Linked DNA regions of Homo sapiens: regions 1, 3, 4, 5, 6 and 7 are each linked to region 2. The links are contacts of gene promoters, found by promoter capture Hi-C in blood cells and fetal thymus (Javierre and others, 2016). All regions are on one chromosome and are shown on one strand. Each heading gives the region's core, a stretch centred on a gene start or on the middle of the fragment in contact. The rest is flanking DNA. Distances are from core to core; before and after follow the strand shown.

The links. The method cuts DNA at HindIII sites, captures the fragments that hold promoters and counts their contacts. A CHiCAGO score of 5 or more calls a contact.
Region 1: a fragment that was not itself captured here is called in contact with the fragment with the promoter of CLUL1 in region 2 in 4 of 17 cell types (M1 macrophages, M2 macrophages, monocytes and 1 more); the score reaches 9.1 in M1 macrophages.
Region 3: a fragment that was not itself captured here is called in contact with the fragment with the promoter of CLUL1 in region 2 in 3 of 17 cell types (M2 macrophages, M1 macrophages and M0 macrophages); the score reaches 8.4 in M2 macrophages.
Region 4: a fragment that was not itself captured here is called in contact with the fragment with the promoter of CLUL1 in region 2 in 4 of 17 cell types (M2 macrophages, M0 macrophages, M1 macrophages and 1 more); the score reaches 8.8 in M2 macrophages.
Region 5: a fragment that was not itself captured here is called in contact with the fragment with the promoter of CLUL1 in region 2 in 3 of 17 cell types (M2 macrophages, M1 macrophages and M0 macrophages); the score reaches 8.6 in M2 macrophages.
Region 6: a fragment that was not itself captured here is called in contact with the fragment with the promoter of CLUL1 in region 2 in 4 of 17 cell types (M0 macrophages, M2 macrophages, M1 macrophages and 1 more); the score reaches 7.7 in M0 macrophages.
Region 7: a contact is called between a fragment that was not itself captured here and the fragment with the promoter of CLUL1 in region 2, in 6 of 17 cell types (naive CD4 T cells, naive CD8 T cells, activated CD4 T cells and 3 more). The highest score is 8.7, in naive CD4 T cells.

Annotation. Positions count from the first base shown.
Region 1 is chr18:352,175-354,874 of GRCh38, forward strand. The region is part of intron 3 of COLEC12 (collectin subfamily member 12); the gene reads right to left. Among named protein-coding and RNA genes, the nearest start is that of THOC1, 85 kb to the left of the region's middle. The HindIII fragment of the contact is 4,508 bases long and covers 1-2,700 here.
Region 2 is chr18:595,522-598,348 of GRCh38, forward strand. CLUL1 (clusterin like 1) reads left to right here and starts at 1,467. Exons shown (of 10, transcript NM_001393344.1): 1 at 1,467-1,608. RefSeq lists silencers at 1,216-1,345, 1,406-1,525 and an enhancer at 1,948-2,447. The HindIII fragment of the contact is 7,229 bases long and covers 1-2,827 here.
Region 3 is chr18:390,224-393,159 of GRCh38, forward strand. The region is part of intron 2 of COLEC12 (collectin subfamily member 12); the gene reads right to left. The region is part of intron 1 of LOC107985155 (a long non-coding RNA gene); the gene reads left to right. Among named protein-coding and RNA genes, the nearest start is that of COLEC12, 110 kb to the right of the region's middle. The HindIII fragment of the contact is 6,658 bases long and covers 1-2,936 here.
Region 4 is chr18:372,989-375,688 of GRCh38, forward strand. All of the region lies in intron 2 of COLEC12 (collectin subfamily member 12), which reads right to left. It overlaps LOC107985155 (a long non-coding RNA gene), which reads left to right. Exons shown (of 2, transcript XR_007066264.1): 1 at 1-2,700. Among named protein-coding and RNA genes, the nearest start is that of THOC1, 110 kb to the left of the region's middle. The HindIII fragment of the contact is 6,080 bases long and covers 1-2,700 here.
Region 5 is chr18:409,802-412,694 of GRCh38, forward strand. All of the region lies in intron 2 of COLEC12 (collectin subfamily member 12), which reads right to left. Among named protein-coding and RNA genes, the nearest start is that of COLEC12, 89 kb to the right of the region's middle. The HindIII fragment of the contact is 5,695 bases long and covers 1-2,893 here.
Region 6 is chr18:447,469-450,237 of GRCh38, forward strand. All of the region lies in intron 2 of COLEC12 (collectin subfamily member 12), which reads right to left. Among named protein-coding and RNA genes, the nearest start is that of COLEC12, 52 kb to the right of the region's middle. The HindIII fragment of the contact is 1,054 bases long and covers 983-2,036 here.
Region 7 is chr18:827,024-829,723 of GRCh38, forward strand. No RefSeq gene overlaps it. Among named protein-coding and RNA genes, the nearest start is that of YES1, 16 kb to the left of the region's middle. The HindIII fragment of the contact is 4,537 bases long and covers 1-2,700 here.

The DNA.
Region 1 (2,700 bases), core at 25-2,524, 240 kb before region 2:
TCCCTGGAAACTCTCAAGAATAAAATGTTGCATATGTGTTTTTAGCAAAGCTAATTTTTAAGAACTAAAATACAGAATGTTTACAGGTTTAGGTTCAGTTTTGATCCTCAAATCAAAACATATGCCTCGGTCTGTCCTCAAACCACATGCAGGATCTCAAGTCCTGCCCTTCTTTCCTGGAAGCCAAAGAAACCTTCAAATATGCTGACAGTCAGTCATTTTCTACCCTTTCTACTTTTTCTTCCATTTTAGTTTTGAAAAACAGAGAACTGTCATGGACAGATAACTCAGGTTTGTGTAGAATAAATACAAAAGGGATAAATACATTCATTAAAAAAAAGAACAAAAAAAATCTGTCGACGTTTTCTTCTGTGCAGCAAAAGGAAACTATTTTCCCTGCCCACAAGTGCTAATGAACAGTTTACATGCACTGGGGGGTGTGTGTCTTTGTTTAACAATAGGATCTGGTATAAAGCTGGAAATGTTAGGATTGCAATGCTGGAACCTGCTACTGCATAAAAATACCAGACTGGTGGAGATCCAGAACTTACCCTTGCTGTAACAGCACACAGCACTTTCATTGACTTTTATTCTGAATTTATTAGCACCAATTCTCAATCAGGAATACAGTCGCAGAGCCATCCTGTATTACCCTGGAAATTCCCAGTCTATAGACATAGACCTCAGTTTGCAGACCATTCTCACATGAGAAAAATGAGCAGGATACACAGAAGGGTGACCAGCAGTCTGGTTTCTCATAGGCTCTCCTGTATTGGGAATTGTTTCTTAAGGTAGAATTTTTCTACAGAATATTGGTGTTTCAGGTATTATACCTGAAGATCTGTCCCTCTTCAAGTATCCAAAGTATAATTCTCTAGGATACTCTGACAATAAAACCTTTTTTATAAAAGCACTTCGGTATCATCCCTTGGCCTGGGCCACTAACTTCTTCTTCCCTCGTCTTGACTCCACTTCTCCTTGAAGGTCCGCTCCACACCTCACTACCCCATTGTACTCAGCCACACCTACAAGTTGATTCCACTGCACACCAACTCGATCTTTATTTGAATGATAATAATAATAGCCTCTATTTATCGAGTGCCTGCTCTTTGCCGGATGCACTACACCATCACTGCAGTTAATCCTTCCAACTGCTGTTTTGTAGATGAAGAGATTGAGGCTCACAGATGTTCAGTAACTTGCTAAAAAGTCACACAGCTTGTCAGTGACTATGTGGGATACCAGGCTGGAAGGTTTAACTCCAAAATCCATGCTCTTTCTATGACTCCGTATCACCTCTCTTTTGGTATTTCTTTTTCCTAAATCTGGTTTCCTCCAATAAAGAATCCCTTAAGGGGAAGAATTATTTCTGTTTATATTCTCTTTAAAGTTAACATCACCAGACATTTACCAAGTATCTGCCATGTAGGTGGCATAGTGCTAGACATTGAGGATTCAAGAGACACAGGCCATGGTCTCGGCCCTGAGGACAGAGCACAGAGCTCCTAGCTGGTGCTCACACGTTTTTGTACCAGACTGATCATGGCACTGTGGGATAAATACTTCCTCTCTCTGGGACCTGGGGCTTCCCAGTAACATTAGTTACACTCCTCTGGAATTTAATAAAGGCATTTCTACCTTGAACACCATTTTAGGTTTCCTTACAGAAATACAGAAAATCTGATTGTAGGGTGTTATCCTGGATCCTAAAGCGCTCTCCAGTGTGATTTGATGTGTATTTTGAAAGCCTAAATAGTAATCCAGTTGTAAACTGCTACACTGACCCAGCTTAGCAGCAAAGTAGACTACCAGTGACTAGGAATGTTGAATTAAAGGAGATCCTTATTGAGAAAGATTCAGATTTCTGTCTTTTTTCTTTTTCCTAATTACCTTTAGAAGGTTGCCTGTTGGAAAGGATAATGGAGTAGGATTTTCCTGTTCAGGAAATATTCTGGAAGAAACATGACACATTGAACTTAAGAGATGACTCCTGCTATGGAAGCTCTGTTGACTAATGATAAAAAGCCCGGGGCAGAGGATGTACCAAGCTCAACTGTCCAAGAACATGTTTTCTGCAAAGTGGCTGATACGCCTCACAGTCACGACCACTGCACAGACCCTGTCTGGGTGACTGAGCGATTCTCTGGCTTCTTCAGCAAATTCTCTTGATGGAAGCTCATTGTATTCTAACTTGTGGCTATGTAAGTGACATGAAAGAAGAAAAGAACAATTTTGAGCAAAACAGTATGAAGTTGCCTTTGCCAGCTCTGATAAATAAAAGTTTTTACTCCTTTCCTTTCGATTTCTCCTTCAGAGGAATGCCTTATTGTGTTTCTTTCATTGAATATTCTTTTCTTTCTTTCTTTTGTAACGGAGAGAGTTTCTCTAGACTTCAAAGGGGGAATGTGTGAAGGGAGAACTGGGTTTTATCTTTCTGCCTCTTACAACATTGGGTCACTAGAATCTTACCAGCAAGAAAGAGGAGTCACTGTGTGAGTAAAGAGAAAGCACATCTGGAAAATATCAACATTTTAGTTCATTAATGGTGTGTTTGGAAAGCAAAAGTGCATGTTGTATTATCTTTTTTTTGGTCAGTGGAGGCCTGAAGGAGGGGGGCACTGAAGGAAAGAAAAGAGGGGCAAGACATCATCTCGTTTCCCCTTGTACTTGCTCCCCATTATCTCTTCTTCCTTCATCTTG
Region 2 (2,827 bases), core at 217-2,716:
AGAAAGACGGTGACTGGCAACAGCCTCACTGGAATACGTCTCTAATCATCAAGGCAACCCACACTCATTTGGATGTGTGCATCTGGTGATGTTATTATTTTTAAAGTTATGTGCCACAAAGATGCATTCTTTGCTATACAAAAGAGCTGTTGTTAAATTTATAAAGATATAAAAAGGGGAAAGGGGAAGGCACCAAATGGAAGATTCTTAGGCATTAAGTGCTCAGACAGCATAGATCTTCATTAGATGACGTCAGGGAGAAGAGACACAGACTTTGCCATCTCAGGTAGAAGTATCAAAGTCATCAGCCTCCTAGTAAGACAGACCTGGGTTTGAAGCTCTGCACAGCCATTTCCTAGCTGGTCTGGGGAAAAATTACTTCTTGAAGCCTCAGTGTCTTTATTTGTAAAGTAAGTGGAATTATATTACCTTGTCAGGATGTTGTCAGAATTAGAAATAATTTAAAGAGGTCCAGCACGAGCAGGTCAATCAAGGGAAGATGTTAAAAATAACAACAGGTGAAATGTACTCCCAAAAGATAAAGTGGATACATAGATGAATCTTCCTCACACACAGAGTATAATAACCTCAGAAAAATATTGCCTAGAGTAAACATGCCTCCCAAGCCAACGTTCATCATCCAGGAATACGGAGAGGATGTTTGGGATATGGGGGGCATGAAATTTTACAATTGTAGGGCCCTTTAACAAGGGTAGACTTGCAAGTTGCACTGCCTTTCCTGCCCTCTCTGGCTACCTGTTCCAGCATCCAGAGTTTGTGAACCTGGGGCCCAAGGACAGCACCTGGCATGGGCAGGCCCACTTGGCGACTCTCTCAGGGCTGCTGCAGCTGTGTCAGTGTCCCCACAGGGAGGCTGACATCCAGCCATGACCATCGCATTAAGCCCAGCAGTCGGGCAGGGGAGCAACTGCTCAGAGGCACCTTTGACCCACTACTTTTTTCCCCTCCTGCTTTATCTGCCCAGAGCGAGGCTCTCTTTCTAATGTGTACAAGGCGTTCTACCTATGACTCGTGGTCCTGCCATAGAAATGCTTTTTTTTTTTTAACTGAATTAAGTTGCCAAGTTTGAAAAATCAGGAATTTCACATAAGCATCCCTATTTCTGTCTTCTTTTGAAAAACTGAATGTTCTTTCCACAGTGAGCCCACATTCCTTCCTGACGACCATCACCGTTCAGCTGGAGTAGAGAGGGCTCTGCTCGCTTCAGATCCGGACGCGCAGGTCCTCTGCAGGCCCCGCCCACCCGGCGTCACCTGCAGGTCCCGCCCACCCGGCGTCTGCAGGCCCCGCCCACCCGGCGTCACCTGCAGGCCCCGCCCACCCGGCGTCTGCAGGCCCCGCCCACCCGGCGTCACCTGCAGGCCCCGCCCACCCGGCGTCTGCAGGCCCCGCCCACCCGGCGTCACCTGCAGGCCCCGCCCACCCGGCGTCTGCAGGCCCCGCCCACCCTGCGTCACCTGCAGGCCCGGGCCGCGGGGTTGGTTTCCACCCTGGAGGTTGCTGACACCCTGTGCCCTCGGCTGACTTCCAGCCGGTGGCACAGACGCCTCCAGGGGGCAGCACTCAAGCGCATCTTAGGAATGACAGGTGAGAACATCCTCCGGGCCCCAGATTTCTCTCCTCGCCGCTCTTGCCCATTTCTCCGGAGAGCCAGAGAAAGCCGCTCCCAAGTCCAAGGCCGAGCTCCGCAGACGCCCGGCCCCTCCGGCGCGGACAGAACAAAGCCACTGTTCTTGCCGGGGAAGGTAGAAATACTGTGGGCTGCTTCAGAGGCTGCCAGCAAAACTCAGGCAATCTCCTGGGCTGTTCCAATACGTTTATTCTCTTTTTCAAAACAGGAGGAGGAGGTAGAGGCGGGGAGACACACCATCCCTGCAAAACTACTGGCAAAAACTAAGCGGAGCCGGGTGTGGTGGCTCACGCCTGTAATCTCAACACTTTGGGAGGCCGAGGGGGGCCGATCACTTGAGGTCAGGAGTTGGAGGCCAGCCTGGCCGGCATGGTGAAACACAAAAATTAGTCGATTGTGGTGGTGCATGCTTGTAATCCCATCTACTTGGGAGGCTGAGGCAGGAGAATCGCTTGAACCCGGGAGGCGGAGGTTGCAGTGAGCCGAGATTGCGCCACTGCACTCCAGCCTGGACAACACAGTGAGATTCTGTCTCAAAATAAATAAATAAATAAACCCAAGCAGAAAAAGAATCACTCTGAAAACGATCACATCTAACTATCAATGCTCATACAGTTTATGGAATTATCAGCCCAACTTGATAAAATCAGTATTTGAGGAAACTGTGGATAAGCCCCCTGATTTCAATCCCCATTGTGCCAGGTCCTGGTTAACTGAGGTTAACGAAGTAAAGAGCTGCAGACACTATTAACTGCTACCTTAAACCGATTACTCTAGCTTAGCCTACTTTCCACGTACAGATTTTACCAGTGGACAACATGATGCTTTATCTTGTTTTTCTCTCCCTGGGACTTTTCTCCAGACATTGAAAACAGAAATACTAATAAGGCCACTTTTACCTGCCTGATGCAAGAACAGAATTTTCAAACTCAACATTAATGCAACTCCTCAGTCCCTGACAATGGCGGGTGGAAAAGTTTCTAAAAATATGCAGCAGCACAATTATCGGGAAGAGATGAGATACTGTTACCTAATAAAAATGCCATAAATAGAGAATGATGAACTACCATGGGAAATGAATGCATAGAAGAGGACATGCTGGAATGTGGGACAGTAAAAATCACTTAAACTTTGCGTGACCTTGAAGAAAGTCACGATGATCTGTTTTTCCAGGTC
Region 3 (2,936 bases), core at 62-2,561, 210 kb before region 2:
GGAAGGGAGGCCATCGTGCTGCCCAAATGTTGATTTGCTATAAAAGCAAAAAGATGGGCCATACCTCTCCTCCTTCGAGCTATTTCTGAAAAAGAGGCAGGATGACAAACTTGAGTTACACTCTTCCAAAGCAGAAACTACTGTCTGGGACTTAGCTTTCTGTTGTTGCTGTATGTTCCATTAAACCAGTTCAATGGGCTAAGGATCATTCAGCAAATAACTATTTCTGTGTTAAAAGATTAAAAAGATAACAGAGGGTCAGGCACAGTGGTTCATGCCTGTAATCCCAGCACTTTGGGAGGCAAGGTGGGCAGATCACCCGAGGTCGGGAGTTCGAGACCAGACTGGCCAACAGGGTAAAATCCATCTCTACTAAAAATACGAAAATTAGCCAGGCATGCCGGTGTGTGCCTGTAGTCCCAGCTACTCGGGAGGATGAGGCAGGAGAATTGCTTGAACCTGGGAGGGGGAGGTTGCAGTGAGCCGAGATTGTGTCACTGCACTCCAGCCTGGGCCACAAAGTGAGACTCCGTCTCCGAAAAAAAAAGAAGAAAAATGATAGCAGAGGCAACGGCTCCTTTGGTTTCTTTGGTGCATGCACTGTCATCCTCAAGAGTTAAGAAGGCCCTGTTTTCCTAATGTCCTTGTCACTGTTTAGCAGCAAGCACACGGGCACAGGGACACTCCTTGCCTGTGGGACAGACATCGTTCCCATAGCAGCAAACCCATGTCTGTCAGGAAGTAACCAGGCAGCAGCTGTGGGCAGCTGTGTGCCCATGGGGAACTGGTCCGCTCTTTTTTTCTATTACTTTTTTTACAAAAACCTGAATTTCCGGTTTTATTACAAAGCCATTTCTAAATGATGGGTTTTCTAAACCAAAGTCTCAGATTTGGCTGTCAGGGGGTCTTATTCCTATCGCCTTAACGTGAGGAGGGCTATTGGTGTGTAGCTTCCTGCATCTTGTAGACCCAGTCTCTGAAAACTCTCAATGCTTTGAGCCAAAAGAGACTCAGGAGATTACACATTCTCTTATTTTAGGAGTGTGTGCAGGTGCCAACTGGAATGCGGTGAGTGGTACTGTGTGTGCGCAAACAGAGAAGAGAACAGGAAAGAACATTTTACCCTCCACAATTTGGGGGTGGATTGCTTTTTGAAACCTTTGGCAAATAATTGCATCAAAGTGTCTCAGTTCTTCAGCGAATACACATGTGTTGTGGTACCAGGTCCACCTATGGTACTGAGGTCCGGAATCTCCTCCCTGACTATAAATTGGGGGTTTTTGTTGTTGTTGTTGTTTTGGTTCTATACTGAGCACCTATGGCTCTCTGGTTATAAGTACTCTTGTTGATTGGGAGGAGAATCCTGTCTTTTGGGACACTAGTTTATAATTTAGTGCACTGTGGCAGCAGAGCTATCAATGTCTGAATTTATCTCCCATCTTGGTATTTTCAGGGGGAACCAGAGAAAACAGTCTATATCCACCAATTCTCCACCACACACCAAGTTATTTTTTAGATGTTTAATGAAAATGTTGGCAGGAGGTGGCAATAGTTATTTTTACTTAAGTATAGCACTCAGAAAGGCAATCTTTAAAACCTAGAGTTCAAGTTTATCCTTATTATTTACAATGAGTAAGGACTTTTGGGAAGATCTGGCTATTGAATATCAACAGGTAAGATTATTTAAAGTTCCTACAATGATTGTGAAAATAATCTCGCATTCTGCTGAGAATATCCTCATCCACAATTCATACGTGGCATCATACTTTGCATGTTTGGTAAATAAAGGGTGGAAAGAACAAATCTTTGGATTGTCTCTACTAGCCAGTGTATACCTGGGGCCATTCATGGGATCCAGGAACCAGACTGTGCCTGTCTCTCCGTGAACAAAGAGCATCCTTGGAGCATTCTTGCCAATCAAATGGATGCTTTTTTCTAAGTTAACTGCAGAAAGCCTTCCCTACCTACAGTGTTTGTAATTTTTCAACTTGTGCTACTGTAGCTTGGTACCTGCTGGGCATGGCTATCATTACCTACAATTCACTACTCTTCTGGATAACTCGCCTGAACCTTGAAAGGTAAAAAATAACTGCACTAAAATCAAAAGACCTGGGTTACAATTCTGGTTTTGTCACCGAACATCCATGCTAACTTGATCAAGCCTTAGTTTTCCCATCTATAATGTGATAATCACACGACTCCTGTACAAGGTTTTTATGCAATTTAAATTACATACTGGATGGGAATATAGTTTATAAATTATACCATGTTATATAAATATGTAGGATTTGGTATTTGGCGAAACTTACACTCTCTTTTAGCCCCCATTTCAGATGCTATTTGGTGAAATGCCACACCCTTGTCCCAGCTTTCTGGACCCAGGTTTGTGCATCACACAATTACTTCAGCTACTAAGGAAAAAGGGCCAAATCTCAAAAGGTGCTTAGCCCACAGTTTTACTCCTAAAATGTGAGGGCCTTTTATGGGCCCACTTCCAGCCTAGAGTTCACAGCAAGACATGTGCTGTCAGGGCAGGAAACTTTACTTAACAACCTAGCCCTAATGCAGGCCGGTTTGAGCTGAGCCATTGGACTGCACTTAGTCCAGAATGACCGGTTACTTCTCTTCCATGACTAAACATCTTTGGAAAAGATTCTTTTCTTTGTTACATAACCCAATGTTCAGACTCCTTTGTTCTTGAGGTCTTCACCAATGAATAGAAGCTCAAGTTCATTGCCTGCTACCTAATGCTTTTTAAGAGCCCTGTTGTAAGAAATAATATTCATGGATGATTGCCTGAAAGATATGAAGAACATCCATTCCTCTAGATACCCTAAGTTGTATTCACACATCAAGCCAAACCATCAAAAAACAGCAGGCTTAGGCTGAATTGTTCTGGTCCCATGTAGAGCTGCTTTTACTGAATTACACTTTGG
Region 4 (2,700 bases), core at 130-2,629, 220 kb before region 2:
ATGTGTGTATTCTAGTTAGAGAGTAACACAGACTACAGCTGCCTGTGACCAGGACAAAACTCTGATGGTAGCCATGGTGAACTGGAACACAAGCTCATCTGTGATAAGAGCCTCTTAGTTTTCCTCTTATTCAATTTCCATCTTGATGAAAAATGGGAAATTTGTATGCAATTGAGGAACAAATACACAGATTTCTGTGTCATAATCTTATTGCTGATTTTGTATTTTGTCTACTTATCCAATGTAAGCTCATCCTATTTGATCACGTCTCTGACAGTCATACGGTTATCCTTTTTTCCTCCACAGTGACCGCTGGAAAGGGAACACCTTGCAACTTCTCCCACGAGGCTTTCGATCCTAATGTAAGGAGCAGACCTCTCCCGTCAGAAGTACATGGTGGGGAAAAAGGGCCATGTGGACACATGGAAACGGATTCGGGCAGGACCAGAACTATTTCCTTAGCCACACAGATGAAGGGTTTGTACTAATTCCTCAGTGAGGAGGAACTGGAACCTGATATCAAAATCCACTGTATGTCCTTTATAGTTTATTGTATATAATTATGTACCATAAACTGTGCATGGCTTACATTCCAGGGCATGGGATCAGTCATTCCTAACAAATCTCGTTGTCAATTTCTGTAAGTCCCAGCTAAGAATCCCCGTAAGGGCTTATCTGAACCGGGTAGAATCAAATATTGTGATAGAACCCCAGGGCCTGGGAGAAGCAGCAGCCCCCCACCTCCCCCCAAGAATTCTGTCTGGTATGCTTCGTGGTACATCTGCAGGTGAGCATTGACTCACAGATATACTTGGTGCACACCCTGTGTCCAGTACCGAATGATGCCAATATGAGCCAATGGGACTTGAGGAACATGTAATTCTATTCACTGTACTCTGCTGTGAAGACGCTACAACCTCCCTGTTAAGTCATGCTCTTTGCTCATTTCTGAGCTTGGGCCTCCTCTTGCATGCAGGCCCTGTTCCACAAATGACTCCAGGGGATAAGGGGCTTCCAAACACCTAAGTCCTAGGGTGTTGCTTTAAGCCACTTGGCTCTTGTGCATGTCTGTAAACCATTGCTAGAATTGGAGGTATTTCAAAGGCAGCGAGCGGCATATGAGAATAAATGATCTAATACAGAGAGTGAATTCCTGATGATTTAAAGCCATTGAGAAAAGCGGCAAACAGAGCTTGGGAGACAGTACACCTCGATGTCCTCAAAAACACATCCCTTAATTTCTAAGAGACCATAATTTATCTTTCTATACTGATAACACCATATTTGTCAAATACAGATATTATGGACTTTTAATATTAGGGAATTAAAAGATCCTTTTAAACTCTGTTTTGAAATACATACATTTTTTCACGTTTGCACATACAGTAACACACCAGCCAGTGTTGAAAGTATGACCTGCAATTGCAATCAAGCCATTCAAGCCATTCAAAGAACAAGCCACATGGAAACTATGACCTCGCCCCTGAAAATCACCCACAGGCATATGTTTGGGCATGATTTCAGGAGATCCATGGGCTCTAGAAACCACCTGTAGGCCTGAGGCTCGGAACTTGTGATACCTGGCCTCCCATAGGAAGTATGAGGATATCCTAATTTTTCCCACCAGAATTTGTATAGACTAGCAAGTTTTGGGGCGGCTTGTTATACTAATAGGCTTCATAGTCTCCACTGAGGGGGCAATTCTGTTTATAAACATTTCCCTCACCCTTCTTCCCCATTCATTCTTGTGGTTTCCTGGCCCAAGCAATACTTATCTGTGAGCCACTGGCCCCAATAACTAACTCAAGACAGCAACACGTTATGCATGGTGAGTTCAGACCGCAGCTGTCTATGTAGCCAGTTAAGTAGCATCATCAAGACGATCCAGTGCAGAGCAGTGGCAAAGGACAGAACCACCCAAAAGGAGGGAGGAGGCTGGACACAGATACATGGGAAGTTGGGGAAAGTTCATCTGTTGTTAAAATCAACAAGTACAATGTCGACAGTGGAGGCCCAGATGTCCCATTAAGAAGTGTCCTACTTAGTCTGGAAAAGTTGGCAACTGTTCTCATGGGAACCAGCAGCAGGAGCAGCAGCTGCAGTGCACAAATAGAAGTGTCCTTCCTCACACCTAGTTTCATCTGGGTCAAGTCCCTCCTCTGCTCAAGCTCTTCTGGGAGCTTCTCCTCTCCTGAGAGAAAGAGCTGAGGTTCATGAGGCCCTACACTGTCTGCCTCCAAAGCTGCCTGCCTTGCTGTTTCGACTCCAGCCATGCTGGCCTCCTCACCAGGCCTCGAACACACCAGGCCTGCCACCACAAGGCCTTTGCATGGGCCGTTTCCTCTGCCTAGGACACTCTCCTGTGGGTACCCTCATGGCTTTCTCCCTTTTTTCGGGTTTTTACTTAAAAACATCATCTTCTCAGAGAGGCCTTCCCTGACCATTCTTTTGAAAAATGCAATCCTCCTCCCCCATGCCTCCATCTCCCTTTCTTGTTTATTTTATGTATTTATTTAGCTATGGAGTCTCATTATGTTGCCCAGGCTGGAGTGCAGTGGCTATTCCTAGGTGCACTCATAGCTCACTGCAGCCTCAAACTCCTGGGCTCAAGCGAGCCTCCCACCTCAGCCTCCTGAGTAGGTAGGACCACAGGCGTGCACGACCACACTTAGCTCTGTTTATTTTTCTTCATAGCACTTA
Region 5 (2,893 bases), core at 331-2,830, 190 kb before region 2:
ATGAGCATGTTTCACCTACCTGAAAACTGACATGGAGTTGCATGGATTTCCTAGGCACAGATAAGCACAAGAAGGAGGAAAGATCATCTCTGTCCTCATTGCGCTAATGGGCTGACTGAGGCATGTGGCGGGGAGAAAAATGTGGGCAAAACTGGCTTCGAGACCTAGATCTTCTAATTACTAGCTGTGTGATCTGGAACAAGTTACTTAATTTCTCTGAACTTCAGTTCTCACCTCTGTAAATCGGGGTTAATAATACCCTCCCTGTAGCATTCTTCTGAGGATTAAGTGAAATTAAGCATAAAGTGCCAAGCACATGGTAGACACTTTTCCTTTCACATAAACCCTAGAAACAAATGTTTCCTGCAGGTGGTTTGGTATCCTTCTGCTTTGTTAAGTGGTGCAGCATGTTCATAAAATATTGAGCTTGAAAAACCAAGTCAACTAAAAATGAAAGTTCCAGGACTTCCACTTGTAGAAGATGAAGTGGACACACTTTTCCCCACTTCTCCTGCCAAGTATAACTAAAATCCTGACATCAGATAGGAAACAAACATAAGAAGACTGTGAAAGGTGGAGTAAAGGAAGCCTGGCTAGAGATCTCAGAACTCACAGAACAACACATGGCTGAGTTGTTCTTCTTTTTTTTTTTTTTAAGACGGAGTCCGCTCTTGTTGCCCAGGCTGAAGTGCAGTGGCATGATCTCAGCTCAATGCAACCTCCACCTCCTGGGTTCAAGTGATTCCCCTGCCTCAGCCACCCGAGTAGCTGGGATTACAGGCATGCTGTATTTTTGTATTTTTAGTAGAGACGGCGTTTCACCATGTTGCCCAGGCTGGTCTCGAACTCCTGACCTCAGGTGATCTGCCCGCCTTGGCCTCCCAAAGTGCTGGGATTACAGGCGTGAGCCATCACACCAGGCAATTATTTCTATCCTAGACTTATAGTGAAGAAGACAACAACCTGGAAATGCCAAAGAGCACAGACAAAAAAAAAATATCCGAAAAAAGCTCATCTCTTCAGGAATGAAGCAGCCTAGCAAAATAGAAAACTTTTCAATAATAAATGCTCAACACCAGCCAAAAACCACAGAATCCCCACCTCCACCCATGCCAGCAAAGCCTGGGTGGGGAACCCAGACTCTCCTCACCTGTTGGGCTGTACCCCACTGGGGTGGGGTAAGAGAATGCTTAGTAGAGTGACTGGATTTTTACTACTGCCTACCCATAATGGAGCCACCCCTACTGCGCTATCAAAAGAACCACACGGAGAGCTGGAATTTCTATCCCTTCCCACCAATAATGCTTAATAATTAGCAATAATAATGATGATACCACTCAGGTATCAATGGAGATCCAGTAGAAACCTGGACTTCTGCATCCACCTAAGCAGTAATGAGGTGATGCCTACCCGTCCCTTGCTGAAGTCCTGCCAGAGAAAGCCAGCTTAAAACAAAAGGTTTTGATGTGATTCAGAGTCTAGTAACATAATACTAAAATATCCTGGTTTCAGCTGAAATCACTTGTCATATCAAGAGACAGGAAGATCTTAAATGCAATGAAAAATGACAATCAATAGATGCCAAGACTGAGATGATAGAGATTTTAGGATTACCTGACAAAGATTAAAAAGCAGCCATGATAAATCACTTCAATGAGCAATTATTAATATGTTTCAAACAAAGAGAAAAAAAAGCCTTGGAAAAGAAACTGACTATCTCAGAGAAGAAATAGATGACCTAAAGAAGAACCAGATGAAAATTTAGAACTAAAAAATAAATAACCAAAGTTATTTATCAATCAAACTCATTGGAACAGAGCAGGCTGAGCACAGTGGCTCACGCCTGTAATTCCAGCACTCTGGGAAACCAAGATGGGTGGATCGCTTGAGCCCAGACATCTGAGACATGCCTGGGAAACATGGTGAAACCTCATCTCTACAAAAAAATACAAAGATTAGCCAGGCGTAGTGGCATGCACCTGTAGTTCCTGGGCAAAAAAGTGAAATCCTGTCTCAAAAACCAGAAACAAACAAAAAACAAAAACAAAGAACAGAGAAAATAGGGAGAGAATCAGTGAACTGGAAAACAAAACAGTAAAAATGACCAATCTGAATAACAGAGCGAATATAGATTGAAAAGCAAATAACAGAGCCTCAGGGATTTGTGGACTATAACAAAAAATCTAACATTTATGTCATAAGTGTCCTAGAAGGAGAGGAGAAAGGAGGAGCAGATAGAAAAGTAATAGAAGAAAAAATGGCTGAACACTTCCCAAATTTGGCAAGAGAAATGAACCTACATATTCAGATGATGAGTGAATTCCAAACAGGATAAAGCCAAAAAAATACACATCAAGACACATCCTAATTAAACTTCCAAAAACAAAGGACAAAGAAAACATTTTAAAAGCAGCAAGATAAAAAAACACCTTACTTATATTGGAAAGACAATTTGAATGATGGTGATTTTATCATCAGAAAATATGGAAGCCAGAAGGAAGAGGTGAGAGAGTTTTCAAGTGCTGAAAGAAAAAAACTGATAACCCAGAGTCCTATATCCAGCAAAAATATCCTTCAGAAATGAAAGGGGAAAGGAAGACATTCTCAGAGGAAGGAAAACTAAGTGATATCTCCAACAGTCCTAATCTGAAAAATTAGCTAAAGAAAGTGCTCTAAACAGAAAAAAAAAAAAGAAAGAAAGAAAACAAAACCTTCAATATTAGGAAGGAAGAACAAAGCAAACAAAAATATAGGTAAATGCAATAGCCTTTTCTCTTCCTCTTGAGTTTTCTAAATTATGCTTGATGATAAGGCAAAAATTATAAAACTGGTCTGGTTCTTAATGTATATAGGTAAATTTAAAGACAAACATATTATAAATGGAAAGGATAAA
Region 6 (2,769 bases), core at 260-2,759, 150 kb before region 2:
GCTGAGCAGAGGCCACCCAGTCGGGCTTTGCAAATAGAATTTGACTCCCATGCCAGACCAAGTGAAACAGATCCACCATACAGGCACTCCAGGAAAAACAGCAATCCATAACCTGTGTGTGCTGAGAATCTAGTACATTGCTCTTTATGAGCCACTGTAAAAAGCGGGATAGGATAATCCCAGTTTCTCCTTCTGTAAAATTCACCTCTCCACATATACTTGACAACATTACAGGGAGACACAGTTTCCAGAGCTTAGATACTTTGCTAATATGTAGTAAACATAAAGGTAAAACCATTAAATTGCAAGTCCTGTCCTCTCTGATTTTACTAAGCATAAAGCTATTGATCACTTTTTGTCCCCTACAGCAAGAATATATCAAGAATATAATCATATCAGGAGAAAAACTACAATCTTCATCTTTGGTAGCGGTCAATCACTTTCAGAATTCTTTTCAAAAACAGCCAGCAGTCAAATTAAATTGTAATTTGGGTTAGGGGTGGGATGGAGGAGAGAATCTGACTTTTGGGCACAGTGTGTGTGAAAATACGTATCCAAAAAGTTCAATGGGAAAATGTTGTCTCCCTGTGACTGAAAAAAAATAATTGTGCTGCTTTCAAATACCCAAGTGGTACCACAAAGTTTGTCTTTCTCTAAAGCCTGTCTGTATCAGTGCCTTTGTGTCTCTCTTGAAAATATCACTTTTTGTAGTAATCTTCTTTTTTAACCACTTTGTCATCATCGTGGGATAAACAGAGTAGACTTTCCAAAATGAATCAGGGTGGTTGGGGTTGAATAGATAAAACATGACTCTGGCAAACGAGCGTTCGCTAAAGTCTGATCCTGTAATCTTTGTGCTGGCAGAACACCACTGTAGTAAACTTGGTTTGGCAAACCCTGTATAAAAACAGGACCCTTGACTTAAGATACAGTGTAAACATGTTGACTTCCTAAAACCCTCAATGGGTATGTGGTGAAGGAAAGCTTAGACCCAGACTCTGTTATATAAAAACAAATTAACTTGAAATGTAATTTTTCTCTACTAAGGCTTTTCATAATATATGAGCAGCCCAACCCCCAAGCCCCTGCCAAACCCATCACAATTATTGTCCAAATTCCCGTGGAGTCCAAAGGGGAGGTGGTATTCAAAAGAAGTAACTGCTGGTGGACTTTGAATAAAATGAGAAGTCTGTGAGGCCAATTAGGTTGTCAGTGGACAAAAATAAGCATAAATTAGAGCAATTAAGTAAATGAAAATGATCAAAAGGAATTTGTGGCAAGAATTTTTTTGAACAGATCCTTTTCTATTATATAGGTACAAAGACCATTTTAAAGAGTTCAAAAGATTTTTAAATTTACTATACTGTACCCAAACCTCATGAAAATAAAGCATACGGAGGAATAAATTCTAGTTTCTTTTAAAAAGTTACTTCAGTTGAAGGAATATTGTACATTTGGTATACTCACAAATATTAAAAAGAATTGTTGGCTAGATACACAAAACAAGGTCATTTTTCTATTCCCAAAGAAATGACACCCAGCGGGGAAAGGGGAATAAATACTGTTTGCCAGAATTCATCTTTCATTGAAATCATACTGAAACCTATAAATTATAATAAAATATTATAATTAGAATGTTATAGTAAAATATAACAATAAAAGTGGACTTTAAGGTAGAATACATACCTTTTTAAAACAATGATTATATTTTGGGATAGAATATTATAGAAGACTTTTACTCTCTAAGTTACACATTTCTACAGATTGTTATAGTAAGTGTGTATGATTTCAGTAACCAGGAAAAAAAGAAGTATTAGGTAAAAAAATAACTCTAGTGTGAGAGGTTATCTTTGAGGCTAAGTTGAGAGGAAATCTGCTCCACTTACTGTTGTTTACACTCTAAACTAGTCGCTCTAAAATATAGTTTACACTCTAGTTGGCATCAAAAGTGCCAAAACTTGTTTTGAAGGAGACCTGCAACATAATGGAAACAAACTCTGCAAAGCTGTCAGTTGCTTCATAGGTCACTGTAATGAAGCTTCTGCAGCAAACTCTCTCTCAGGGACTCCCACACTGAACTGCTTTTACAGAAAGAGACTCACTAGGCAGCCACGGAGGTACGCCCTCAGTAAGCTATTCAGCAATAAGGGATGCCTAGCCAGCTGACAGCCTCCAGCACTGCCCCTCTCAATCTGCCACCGTGATTCCTGCCGAGGCCACACAGTCCGGGCGGAGTCTGCTTACAGCCAATGACTGATCATGGCAGGGACACGAGAGCCAGGTCACTTCTGCCCTCATGGGGCCCTTCTGACAGGCAATCTCTGCTCCCGGGCACCCATGTACCTGGCTGAGACTTTCTCAGAGCTGCACTGCAGTCTGAGATTCTTCATATCCAACTCTCCTTTTTACCTCCTCTCTTTTAAAAGGTGTTGGACCTGTGTCATCATAATTTTGTTACTGACAGTAATAACATTATTTAAAAAACAGCTTCCATTGGGATATTTCTTATCATTTTTAAACCTTTTCAGTTATATAATTTCATTTTGTCAGTAAATCATTTATTAGTAGAATATTTAGTGAAGAAATTAGGCATAGATTGCCTTCACTTGCATTAGTGGACATTTAAGTTACATGAAGGGAAAACACTGATACACAACAAAGTTACTGATGAAAACACAAGGACTTTCTTTTTTAAAACTCTCTCGGCTTCCATAACACCACACTCTTTTGGTTCTCCTTCCAGCTCTCGGAAAATGTCTTTTCCGCCTA
Region 7 (2,700 bases), core at 173-2,672, 230 kb after region 2:
GATTACAGGCGTGAGCCACGATGCCGGGCCTCAACCATTTGTTTTTACTCTATTCAGACATGAATGATGAAATGTTACAGAATCCTTATTTCTTCATTCTCCGTTGCTTTTTGGAAATTTTCTCGGGTGAACATTACCTTCTACAGAGTAACAGAACCAGTAGGATGTAATATACATAGAAAGACACTTATGAGAAGGAATTGGTTCACATGATTATGGCAGCTGAGAAGTCCCAGCATCTGTAGGGTGAGTCAACAGCTATAGACCCAGGAGAGCAGGTAGGGTAGGTCCAGGCAGAGTTTGAAGGCCTGAAAACCAGGAAGCCAATGAAGTCAGGGAAAAAGCCAGTGTCTCACACTGAAGGCAGTCGGGAAGATTTCTTTCTTTCTTTCTTTTTCTTTCTTTCTTTCTTTCTTTCTCTTTCTTTCTTTCTTTCTTTCTTTCGTCTCTCTCTCTCTCTTTCTGTCTCTTTCTTTTCTTTCCTTCCTTCCTTCCCTCCCTCCCTCCCTCCTTCCTTCCTTCCTTCCTTCTCTCTCTCTCTCTCTCTGTCTCCCTCTTTTTTTTTTTTTTTTGACTCGTTTTTTCACCCAGGCTTGAGTGCAGTTGCCTGACCTCACTGCAACCTCTGCCTCCCGGGTTCAAGCAAGTCTCCTGCCTCAGACTCCCGAGTAGCTGAGATTACCAGCACGTGCCACCACCCCTGGCTAATTTTGTGTTTTTGGTAGAGATGGGGTTTCACCATGTTGGCCACGCTGGTCTTGAAATCCTGACCTCAGGTGATCTGCCCACCTTGGCCTCCCAAAGTGCTGGGATTACAGGCGTGAGTCACCGCACCTGGCTAATAGGAAATATTAATGCATTTAATAAATACGGCATACCACTACTACTTCTTTGATTTTATCAGATAAATAGTCTTTCCAAATATTGAGTTGTGATACTCCTGCATTGCAGAAACCATTCACTTACATTTCTGTTTTCTCTTTTTTTTGAGGCAGGGTCTCTGTCATCCAGGCTGGAGTGCAGTGGTGTGATCTCGACTCACTGCAGCCTCGACCTCCCAGGCTCAAGCAATCTTCTCACCTCAGCCTCCTGAACAGCTGGAACTACAGGCGCGTGCCACCATGCCTGGCTAATTTTTATATATATATATATACGTATATATATATATATATATATGTATATATATACATATATATATGGATATATATGTGTGTGTGTGTATATATATATATATATATTTTTTTTTTTTTTTTTTTTTTTGTAGAGGAGTGGTTTCTCCATGTTGCCCAGGCTGGTCTTAGACTCCTGGGCTCAAGTGATCTTCAGGCCTTGGCCTCCCAAAGTGTTGGGATTACAGGCATGAGCCACCACGCCCAGCCTCATTTACATTCCTGTCTTCAATTCCTAGTATAGTGCCTGGTATGTAGTAAGCATGTGATAAAAATTTTAAGAATATTTAGGGCCGGGCGCGGTGGCTCACGCCTGTAGTCCCAGCACTTTGGGAGGCCGAGGCGGGTGGATCATGAGGTCAGGAGATCGAGACCATCCTGGCTAACACGGTGAAACCCCGTCTCTACTAAAAATACAAAAAATTAGCCGGGCGCGATGGCGGGCGCCTGTAGTCCCAGCTACTGGGGAGGCTGAGGCAGGAGAATGGCGTGAACCCGGGAGGCGGAGCTTGCAGTGAGCCGAGATTGCGCCACTGCAGTCCGCAGTCCGGCCTGGGCGACAGAGCGAGACTCCGTCTCAAAAAAAAAAAAAAAAAAAAAAAAAGAATATTTAGTATTGTTGTCTCTGAGAAAAACATAAGTTATGTATCTAAATTCTGTAGCCCTATAAGAAAATCTGTGTGTGTGTGTATATATATATTATATATATATATATATTTTTTTTTTTTTTGAGACGAAGTCTGGCTCTGTTGCCCAGGCTGGAATGCAATGGCGTGATCTAGGCTCACCGCAACCTCCACCTCCCGGCTTCAAGCGATTCTCCTGTCTCAGACTCCCGAGTAGCTGGTATTACAGGCATGCACCACCACGCCTGACTAATTTGGTGTTTTTAGTAGAGATGGGGTTTCTCCATGTTGATCAGGCTGATCTCGAACTCCTGATCCCAGGTGATCCACCCGCCTCAGCCTCCCAAAGTGCTGGGATTACAGACATCAGCCACCACGCCTGGCCGAAAATCTGTATATTTTTAATATACAAAGTTTAAGAACAACTAAGTTTTATTTATGCAAAAATGTTTATTTGATTTGAAATGAAACTTTGGAGAAGTTATAATAGCAGAAGTCAAATGTCTTCTTTTCCTTTGTGTTTCTTAATTATGTTGCCTTTTTAACCTTTCATTCTAAAATAGTTTCTATGAACAACTAAACAAGACATGATGGTTGACTCAATCAATAAAATATACAGTATGTTTGCATCATGACATATTTAGATTTCAGTGGCACAAATATAATATTACGTTATGCCAAATAATACTTTATATTTTTCAAATTATTTTATTATCACATTTGATCCGTATAACAATCTTAAAAGATGAATAGGTAGATGTCACTACCCCCATTTTACAGGCGAGGAAACTGAGGAATGAGAAATGCAAACCAGTATGCCAGTCACCAAGTGTCAGATTAATTACTGAGCTAGAGGCCAAACGAGGTGGCTCAAGCCTGTACTTGCAGCACTTTGGGAGGCCGAG